3 separate regions of the Homo sapiens genome follow, and regions 1 and 2 are each linked to region 3. Evidence: promoter capture Hi-C in 16 types of primary human blood cells and fetal thymus (Javierre and others, 2016). All regions are on one chromosome and are shown on one strand. The core of a region is centred on a gene start or on the middle of the fragment in contact, and the rest is flanking DNA. Distances in the headings are between cores, read along the strand shown.

Region 1 (3,133 bases), core at 340-2,839, 350 kb before region 3:
TCTCTCTGATTCCAAAGACCAATCAGGGAGGAGGTGAAATAGACAGTCCCAAAGAGTCCAAGAGAGGCTGGGGCATCCTGTGGGGGGTAGGATGGAGCAGAAGGAACCGGACACTAAGGATGAACCCAAGGGAGCAAGACAAGTTAATACCGGCTGAGACCCAAGAACAGGGGAAGTGCCAGAAAGGGCATCTGAGGCCAGGGATCAAGAGGAGATGGGGGAGCTGGAGAGGAGTGGAGGGTGCTGGGAAGGAAGGGAGGGCCCAGTGGGTCACTGCGCCACCCACTGAGGAGCAGCCAGAGGAATGATGGCAGAGTGCCCTGGACACCCTTAAAGGCACCAGGTGAAGGCCGGAAGTCTTAGAAGAAAAAAAAAAAAAGCTGCACACGTGGTGGGTGTCACACCCAAAAGGCAACAGACCTTGTCCAGGAGGTCACTCGTCTAGGACATTGTAGAAATGATTCACTGACCCAGGTTGGGCCAGATGAGCACACAGTCATTCCAAGCCCAGATCCTTGGATTCGGTGTTGCAGGGACAGTTAGGGCTCACATTGGAGAGGCACCTGCCTTGAGCAGGGCAGAGCGCAGGAGTGGGAAGGGAGCTGGGAGATGAGAAGGCTGAGCTGGAGGGGAATGGGGTCTCACACCTACTGGGAGCCAGAGGCAACCATGAGAATCTCTCCAAATACTCCTATCAGAGAGAGGGGAAACAAGTATTTGAGAAGTGCGTTAGGACCAATTTTCTTCCTTTTTTTCTTCAGATCATGAAAGTGACAGACATTCATCATCCTTTTGGAAAATACAGTAAAGTAGGAGGAACATACAGATTTCCCTTACTCGTATCCACACAGGACTGTTGTTCTTTTCATGTATAGTCTATTTCCAGGTGTCTGTATGCCTGTGGATAAACGTTTGTTCATTAGTTAGCTGGGTTGGGATCATCTGGTAGGATTTTTGCACTTAACTACCTGCTATAGTCAGAATGTTTGCGTCCCCGCCACATTCATATGTTGAAACCTAACCCCCAAGGTGGTGGTATTAGGAGTGGGTGCTACTGGGCGGTGATTAGGTCATGAGGGCAGAGCTCTCAAGCATGGGTTTAGTGTCCCTCGAGAGGAGGCCCTGGAGAACCCCTGGCCCCTTCTACCAGGTGAGGACACAGGGAGAAGGTGTCACCTGTGAACCAGGAAAAAGGTCCTCACTAGACACTGAATCAGCCGACACCTTGATCTTGGCCCCCACCCCTTCCAAAACTGTGAAAAATAAATTTGTTTATAAGCCCCCATGTTTATGGCACGGTGTCATGGCAGCTGCCCAAACAAACCAAGACACTATCTGTTGTGAGCATTTTCCCGTGGTTTTCAACCGCATAATTTGTAATGGTCGCATAGCCTCCCATCATATGAATGTATTGTAATTTATTTAACAGATTGCTTATTGTTAGACATGCATTAATATAAATCCTGAGATATAATCTGGGCATCAATCTAGACAAACGAGCTCCAAAGCTTTAGTTTAGCTCTGCCCTTAGGGCAGTATTGGAAGCTGTAAAGACAGCTGTGAGCTGGAGCAGTCCCGAGGCACCCGCATGCAGGTGTGCCGGGAAAGCCTGTGGTGGCCCAAAAGGCGTCATCAGCTGTCAGAGGGAGCAGTCTTCAAAGGCCAACAATCAAGCTTAGTGCCAGGAAGCACAGCTCCTGCACATGGCCCGCAGCCCTCTCAGGACAGAAGAACTGGGTGCAGCAGGCCTCACGTGCCTACTGGCGGGGTCCCAGGAGAGGTCCTATAGCTTCCATCCAGCTGTCCCCACACCCTGCTCCGCTCTGCTCTCTCCATGCCCCCACCCCGTGGAGCATAGCCCCTTCTCACCACACCCAGCCCTGCTGTGGTCCGCATGCTCCCACCTCTTCGGCCCCTTCCTTGCTTGGCCCTGGTGTCTGTGTGGACTGAAGGCCAACTGTTCCCTGGGACTCTGGTCACCTTGGAGCCCCCACCCCTACTGCCATTTCCAAATTACATCTCTCTCTTTTTTCTCTAGAACCCACAGCTTATGTGAAGCTGTGCCATTCAGCTCCACCACATCCTGCCTTTCCTCATGATGGTCCTTACCAACCTCTGATTATCCCATTCATTAAAAACTCTAGTTCTGCCTCACTACCTTCTCCTCCACATTTCCTCTGATTTTTACATCCGTATGGAGGAGCTGACCAACACTAGAGCTTCTAAGTCTCAGTAGCAGTTCCCTAGGGCCGCTGAAACAAATTGCTTCAAATCGGTGGCTTAGCATAACAGAAATTGATTATCTCACAGATCTAGAGGCTGGAAATCCAAAATCAAGGCATGGACAGGGCCACAGTGCCTCTGGAGGCTTTGGGCGAACTCTTCCTGGCCTCTTCCAGCTTCTGGTGGTTCCTTGGCCTGTGACTGTGTAACTCCAATCTCTTCACTTGGTCTTCTCCTGTGTCTGTGTGTCTGTCTCCCCTTCTTTCTATTACAAGGACACTTACTGGATTTAGGGCCCACATGGCTAATCCAGGATGATCTCATCCATTGATCTTTAATTGAATTATATCTGCCAAGACTCTTTTTCCAAATAAAATTATAGTCACAGGGTCGCAAGTTCCAGGACACTGACATATCTTTTTGGAGCCCACCATTCAACTGAACTCAGTGCCTTATCCTGTTTCCCACCTGAGCCACTCTAGTCTCATGGTCACACCGTAGACCTTGTCATAACAAGCATCTCAGCCACCTTTAAATTATCGATCTCAGACATCCTCCCAGCTCTCTTGTGCTCTAGGACTCTAGCCCAAGGGCTCTCATTCACTGACGTCCCTGCCTGTGCGTTTTCTGTCATTCCTTCCCTCATTGTTGCCCTCCTTACTCAGCTCAGACTGCAAGTTGCCTCATTACAACCTCTCCCTGGCAGAATTCCTCAACCCCTTGCTTCTCTCTTCTCTAAGTCATACTTATCCTGCAAAACCTCAACCTTGGCTGATTCTAGTATTGACTTGGATGCACAGCTGACCACAACAGGAAAAGTCACACTGTCGGGCTGACTGGTTTCACTTTAAGTTCATGGCCACAAACCTCTAATGGGCACTGCTTAGCTACTCTGTCCATTTCCATTGTG
Region 2 (2,828 bases), core at 197-2,696, 270 kb after region 3:
CTCAGGAGCTTGAGACCAGCCTGGGCAACATGGCCAAACCCTGTCTCTACAAAAATTAGCCAGACGTGGTGGTATGTGCCTGTAGTCCCAGCTACTCAGAAGGCTGAGGTGGGAGGACCACCTGAGCCCTTGAGGTCAAGGCTGCAGTGAGTTGAGATCATGACACTGCACCGGGTGACAGAGTTAGACCCTGTCTTAAAAAAAAAAAAGTGGGTAGCACCTTAACAAAAATCTTATCAGCATATTGGTCATTTATTTTCTGTAGCTGATTTTGGAGATAGTTCTTTATCATAAATTATACATTTGCTGACTTAAAAGATCATTACTTCTGGTAGTAAAGAAGGAAATGGACATGAACTTCATCTTTCAAAGTCTGATCATCTGTCGTTTGCATTTTTCCTCTTTCTATTTTAAGAATTTGTTTCATTTTTTTATTTCCCCATAAAATACTGGAGTTTTTTAAAATAAAAACTTGAGTTGGTTCATTTTAATTCAGTGGAACTACTATGCTCTTATATTTTATACTTTAGATCTAAGCCAAAATATAAGACTAATCAATTTCTTCTAATCCATGGAGTTACAATCCATGATAGTTTGGAGCCACAGCTGGACTATATTTTAATAAAACCAGTTCTCTTCCTGTAAATCCATAAGTATGAACAATTTCTAGAAGATGTCAAATTTCTCTTGATGCCTAGATTTAATTAATAGTGAGTAACAATGTTCAATGTACAGACATTGTACTTTTAAAAATAGGCTTTGGAGATCAAAAAGGAAAAGAAAGCAAAAAATCATTAGAATGTATTATGTGTGCAAATATTTTATTTCTTAACTATCTTTAAAATGTAACTCAGCACCATATTTTCTCAATATATGAAGGGAAAGTTCAGTAATTTGCTCTGTGAATTCAGTGATTGCATGGCTAGTCATTTTGAAATGAGAGACACATTTCATATCAATTTAAAAGATTCTTTATCAATTTCCAGAGCAGTTAAAATTTCTCATTTTAAATAGTAACTGCCATATATGAAATGTAGGAATGCTGTCCCTCATAAATAAACACATGAAATATATGAAATCGAGGCACATACATGCAAAGAAGGAAGCCTGGCATCTGGAACTCATTAATAATGCCACAGGGGTCACCATCTGGGCATGTGTGTATAAAACACATCTGCACTACTGGCAACGGGTGGCTCATGCATCTGGATCACATCACTCACGTTCTCCCCAACCACATATCATAGCAGGAGGAATTTCCTGATGAATCAGATGCTGCCCAAAAGTACCATGGTTTCTTTGTGTTGCCATGCACATAATGAATCTGAAAAGAATTACAGATCAAGCTAAAACAAAGATACCTTTCATTTGGCTAATTGTACAGAATGATGAATGGGCCATGCAATATTAAAAGAAAGAAGGAAAGAGAAAGAAAGAGAGAGAGGGAGGGAGGGAGGAAGGAAGGAAGGAAGGAAGGAAACAAGGAAAAAAAGAAAAAAATAAATAAATTATGTGTGTTCATTTCCTCTGCACTGCAAATCCCAAACTATCTGCAATCATTTGTGTGTGGAGGGTGGTGGGATGGTGGAGGGAGGGCAGTGGTGTGCTCAGAGGTAAGCAGAAAATTATCATAAAAAAATACCCAGGAAACAATGCTGCTATTAGTAAAAGACAATGAAGGAGAGTGTGAATATAAAGCAAGTAGGAAGAAAGTATGGGTTGGCACGTGGTGACTCATGCCTGTAATCTGAGGACTTTGGGAGGCCGAGATGGGTGGATCCCTTGAGGCCAGAAGTTTGAGACCAGCCTGGGCAACATGGTGAAACCCCATCTCTACTAAAAATACAAAAATTAGCTGGGCGAGGTGGCACACGCCTGGAATCCCAGCTACTTGGGTGGCTGAAGCGTGAGAGTTGTTTGAACCTGGGAAGCGGAGGTTGCAGTGAGCCGACATCCTGCCACTGTACTACAGCCTGGGTAACAGAGCAAGACTCTGTCTCAAAAAAAAAAAACAAAAACAAAAAACAAAAAACAAAGAAGAAGAAGAAAATATGGAAATGGAATATTGGCATACAAAGGTTCCTTAGAAATTCAGTTGGTTCACTTTTTTTAATCTCCACATCAATCTAGATGGCTGATTTTGTTATTTAAACTTTTAAAGGAGGTTCTGCAATGTTATATACATATGTATTTAAGTATGTATGTATTTGTGTCTTGCCTCATTTTAAAAAGATTTGAGCAGACACAATGCTTTATTGGCCCAGTAATATTTTCTAGTATTTCACAGCTATTAATAGGCAGGAAGGTTGATTTAAATAGAGCAATGCTTCAATCTGGAAAATTATTTGCACTGTATTGAGGCAAGTTAATAGTGTGTCTGAAACCCAAGTTCTGGGCATGTAGTCATCAGGCCTTCTACTGATTTGTGAAGTCAGAGAAGGATTCTTTTTTGGCACTCTTCTGTCTACTTGCTGCAGATACGGAAAGTAACTGCACATAAAAGAAGGTGGAGAGGGTGATGTTGAATGAAATTTTATTTCTAGTTAAATGCTGTTCAAAGCATTTGGAAATGATTTAACTTTGAGGCTTTGCCTACATCTATAACATATCAAGATTACCAGCTGGAAAGGGAAAAATTCAAATACCCGGATGCTTGGACTATGCTGTGCTAAAAATGCGACTACTTGAAAACATCCAGGTATTTAGTAGTATCCCACATGAAATAAGAATTTCCCACCTTCTTTCCACTTTTGACATCACACAGGAGCAGTTAACATTATATTTCTATACTTTATTTTCTAAATAAACCATTTCTTTTGCTTTAGGTA
Region 3 (3,059 bases), core at 345-2,844:
TTTAACTGCGTGGGGGACCTTCAGAATCCAAGGGGCAAATAGAAACTTGGAGAAGTGAAGAGAAAAAAAGGGCACATTGAGATGGCACTGGAGATCCTTGCTAAATAAAGGAAGATGTTGGCAAGGAATACAGAAAAAAGTATGAAACAGAGACTACTGGAGGTATTCAAGTTGGAAAATGCAAAGTGTCCCTTTTTTTTTTTCACATCAACAACTTACGTTTATGCTAATCTACTTAAATGTTAAGTCTGGCCAAGCAATTAGACTATTTAACCTTGTTTGGAGTTAAATGCAGACAGTGTGTGAGACTGTGTTCACAGTACTGTATTACGTCTTTAGGAAAGAGGATCTAGATTTCATTTTGTCCTTCTCAGGATTGTGTCTGCTATGCAAGCACTGGTTTTCTATAGTCTGGCTTGTAAGGCACAAGGAGCAATTAAACAGAGGATTAAGGTAAACAGGTGTGTCCCATCACTTCCCCTCTTCATACTATATTGTTCATATTCTCTGAATTTCATACAAGCTACAGTGGAAGCAGTAAGTTAACTTTAAAAAATCATAAGATTGCCCATACTTCTAGGTTATGCAAATTGATTTCTGAATAAGCCCTTGTTTGCGACATCGCTGGTAAAGGCAGGATGTTAACTTAAAGAGATGCCAGATTTTGGACTTGTTAGTTATAGGCATCAAAACCTGGAACTAGGAAATGTATTTCCACGTATTACTTCCATTATCCTACTAATGTTAGAAACAGGCAACTAACCACATCCTCGACCCCAACCATATTTCAGGAGAGGCTGGCTGAATTTTGCAATATGATTCCAAAAGGGAGTATTTGCAGGGTCTTTGAAGCTATAAATCCCCTAGGAAGAGTCTTCCCCACCTGTCAGGACCTGGACAGTGTCCACAGAGGGTGCCGGGCGCACTACCGCCACGCGGCGCTGAGGTCTGCCTCTCGGGTTTTGGGAGAGCTCTTTTTATTCTAAATTACAGACTTTGCAGCCACCGGATATCCTCGCTGCATAACTGGCAGTGGCCATGTGGCTGCACTCGCGTTTCCTGACAACCACTGCATTATTTCCACTAATATCCTGTGTCCAAGGCCTCTCGCTTGGCGACTCCTCGTTCCCACCTCCACCGCCACCTCTTCCCTCGAGGGTAATCTCTCGACCGTGGCCCAAGCGCCTCGACAAAGCGGCAACCACCCAAAAGTTCATGAAAATGCACTTGGCAAAAGTGGGCCGCTAGTCCCCGCGGACAGCTCTAAGCGACCCCGTCCCAGCCGAGGAAAGCGCCCGGGCCCCGCAGAGTGCGCGCTGCGGGGCGGGCCCGCGGCCATGTGCTCCGCGCCGGGGCGGGGCACCCGCGGGTTCGCATTGTCCACTTTCCCCCGCACCCCGCCGCGTTCCGTCCCTCCCTATCTGCGGCGCACACGCGCTCAGAGCAAGCGGCGCGCCCGGGTCTGGAGCTGCAGCAGCTGCGGCAGCGGCGGGGGTGGTGCGGCGCGGGGCGGGGCGGGGCGGGGCGGGGCGGGGCGGGGCGGCACGGGGGCGGGCCCGGGGCGAGGCAGCTGGGGCGCCAGCGAGCTAGCGGCGAGCGCGGCGAGCAACGGAGAGGAGCGCGAGCAGCAGCATGGCGGGGCTCCGACGCCCGCAGCCCGGCTGCTACTGCCGCACCGCGGCGGCCGTGAACCTCCTGCTGGGCGTCTTCCAGGTCCTGCTGCCCTGCTGTCGCCCGGGAGGGGCTCAGGGACAAGGTCAGCCTTGCGCCGCTGGGCTCGCTCTGCCTCTCCACCCCGCCCCCGCTCTTTCTTTTAGGGAACTGCTGAAATCTATAAGAGGGCGAGGGGAGGAAAGGGAAAGGGGCAGGAGGAGGAAGGAAAGCTGTTGCGATTCTCCGCTGATAACATTTTCTGACCACAGCGTCCCGTCCCGCGCCTCTCTGCCCCGTACAGCTGGAGAGCGGGGCAGTCGCGGGGCTTGGGGACCGCTAGCCGCTCGCGCCCTGGAGCCTTTGTGCGCGGGCCCCTGCGCCCCGGGCGCAGCCCCCGCTTTGTGTGGCGCGCGCGGGTGCCCCGCAGCGGCCCGGCTTCCTGCAGCTTTGTTCCCCCGAGCCTGGCCGCCCAGGGTCCACACTCCAGATGCTCGGGCTGCGGAGCCCGGAGTGCCTCGTGGGGTGTCTTCACTCCCACTTCGTCCCCCCACCCCCAGCACGAGCACCCCGAGCCTGCCTGCACGCTGTCGCCTTCGCGTCCGAGGGGCCGCCGGCTCACACCCCACCCATTGTATTTTTATCCTTGGCTCGCCCCTGGGATGGCCTCTGTTCCCAGGAGGAAAAAGAGACGTGTTTTGGTGAGGCGGGGGGCACGGAGGGACGGTAGGGGAAACAGGAAGCGTTTCTTTAGCGTGCATTAAAAACGTGGTGTATTTTTTGGTGTTCCTGCAGCGATTGAGCCGTTGCCGAACGTGGTGGAGCTGTGGCAGGCAGAAGAAGGGGAACTCCTGCTGCCCACTCAGGTGAGGACGACCAGGTGACAGGGCGGCTGTGGGTGTACGAGGGAGGAGAGGCGGGGAGGCCCCCGGTCCTCCCCACCCCCTGTCCAAGCGGCACAGGCGTTCGGGCCACTTTGCAAGGCAAATAAACGTTAGGGGCCGAGCCTGAACACCTGGCAACGGTGGCCTTCCCGGCTCCTCCCACGCCATGTGACAGGGCCTGAGGCAGGCCGGCCCCAAGTTCAGAAGGTGGGAACCCAGGCCACCTCAGCAGGGAAGCGGCCAGCGGTCTGTTCGGCCGTGGGTGTCCTGGGTGCACACTGTTCCCTAAGTGAGCTGGTGCTGTGTGGATGGCAAGTGGCTAAGAGGTTGAGGACAACAGGAGTATTGATTTCATAAATGTTAGAGTGGTATTTGCCATTAGCGTTAAGTAGCTTTGGGATGGAGATGTGACTCTCAAGGATTGTCATCTTGGATTTTCTCCAAGTGCCCTTAATTCCTGTTAAAATACACCCACTTAAGAACTTGAATTTCTGGTTTTTTTCTCTGTATGATGATATGATGATT

Evidence for each region. The method cuts DNA at HindIII sites, captures the fragments that hold promoters and counts their contacts. A CHiCAGO score of 5 or more calls a contact.
Region 1: a contact is called between a fragment that was not itself captured here and the fragment with the promoter of TMEM131L in region 3, in 6 of 17 cell types (naive CD8 T cells, activated CD4 T cells, naive CD4 T cells and 3 more). The highest score is 9.3, in naive CD8 T cells.
Region 2: a fragment that was not itself captured here is called in contact with the fragment with the promoter of TMEM131L in region 3 in 1 of 17 cell types (monocytes); the score reaches 5.4 in monocytes.

The regions. Positions count from the first base shown.
Region 1 is chr4:153,110,550-153,113,682 of GRCh38, forward strand. No RefSeq gene overlaps it. Among named protein-coding and RNA genes, the nearest start is that of TRIM2, 92 kb to the right of the region's middle. RefSeq lists an enhancer at 1,722-2,221. The HindIII fragment of the contact is 166 bases long and covers 1,507-1,672 here.
Region 2 is chr4:153,730,232-153,733,059 of GRCh38, forward strand. The region is part of intron 3 of RNF175 (ring finger protein 175); the gene reads right to left. Among named protein-coding and RNA genes, the nearest start is that of RNF175, 28 kb to the right of the region's middle. The HindIII fragment of the contact is 3,306 bases long and covers 1-2,828 here.
Region 3 is chr4:153,464,766-153,467,824 of GRCh38, forward strand. It overlaps TMEM131L (transmembrane 131 like), which reads left to right and starts at 1,595. Exons shown (of 35, transcript NM_001131007.2): 1 at 1,595-1,756; 2 at 2,446-2,516. The coding sequence starts at 1,633. RefSeq lists enhancers at 1,056-1,235, 2,606-3,059, 2,766-2,855 and silencers at 1,276-1,425, 1,466-1,565, 1,936-2,295. The HindIII fragment of the contact is 8,794 bases long and covers 1-3,059 here.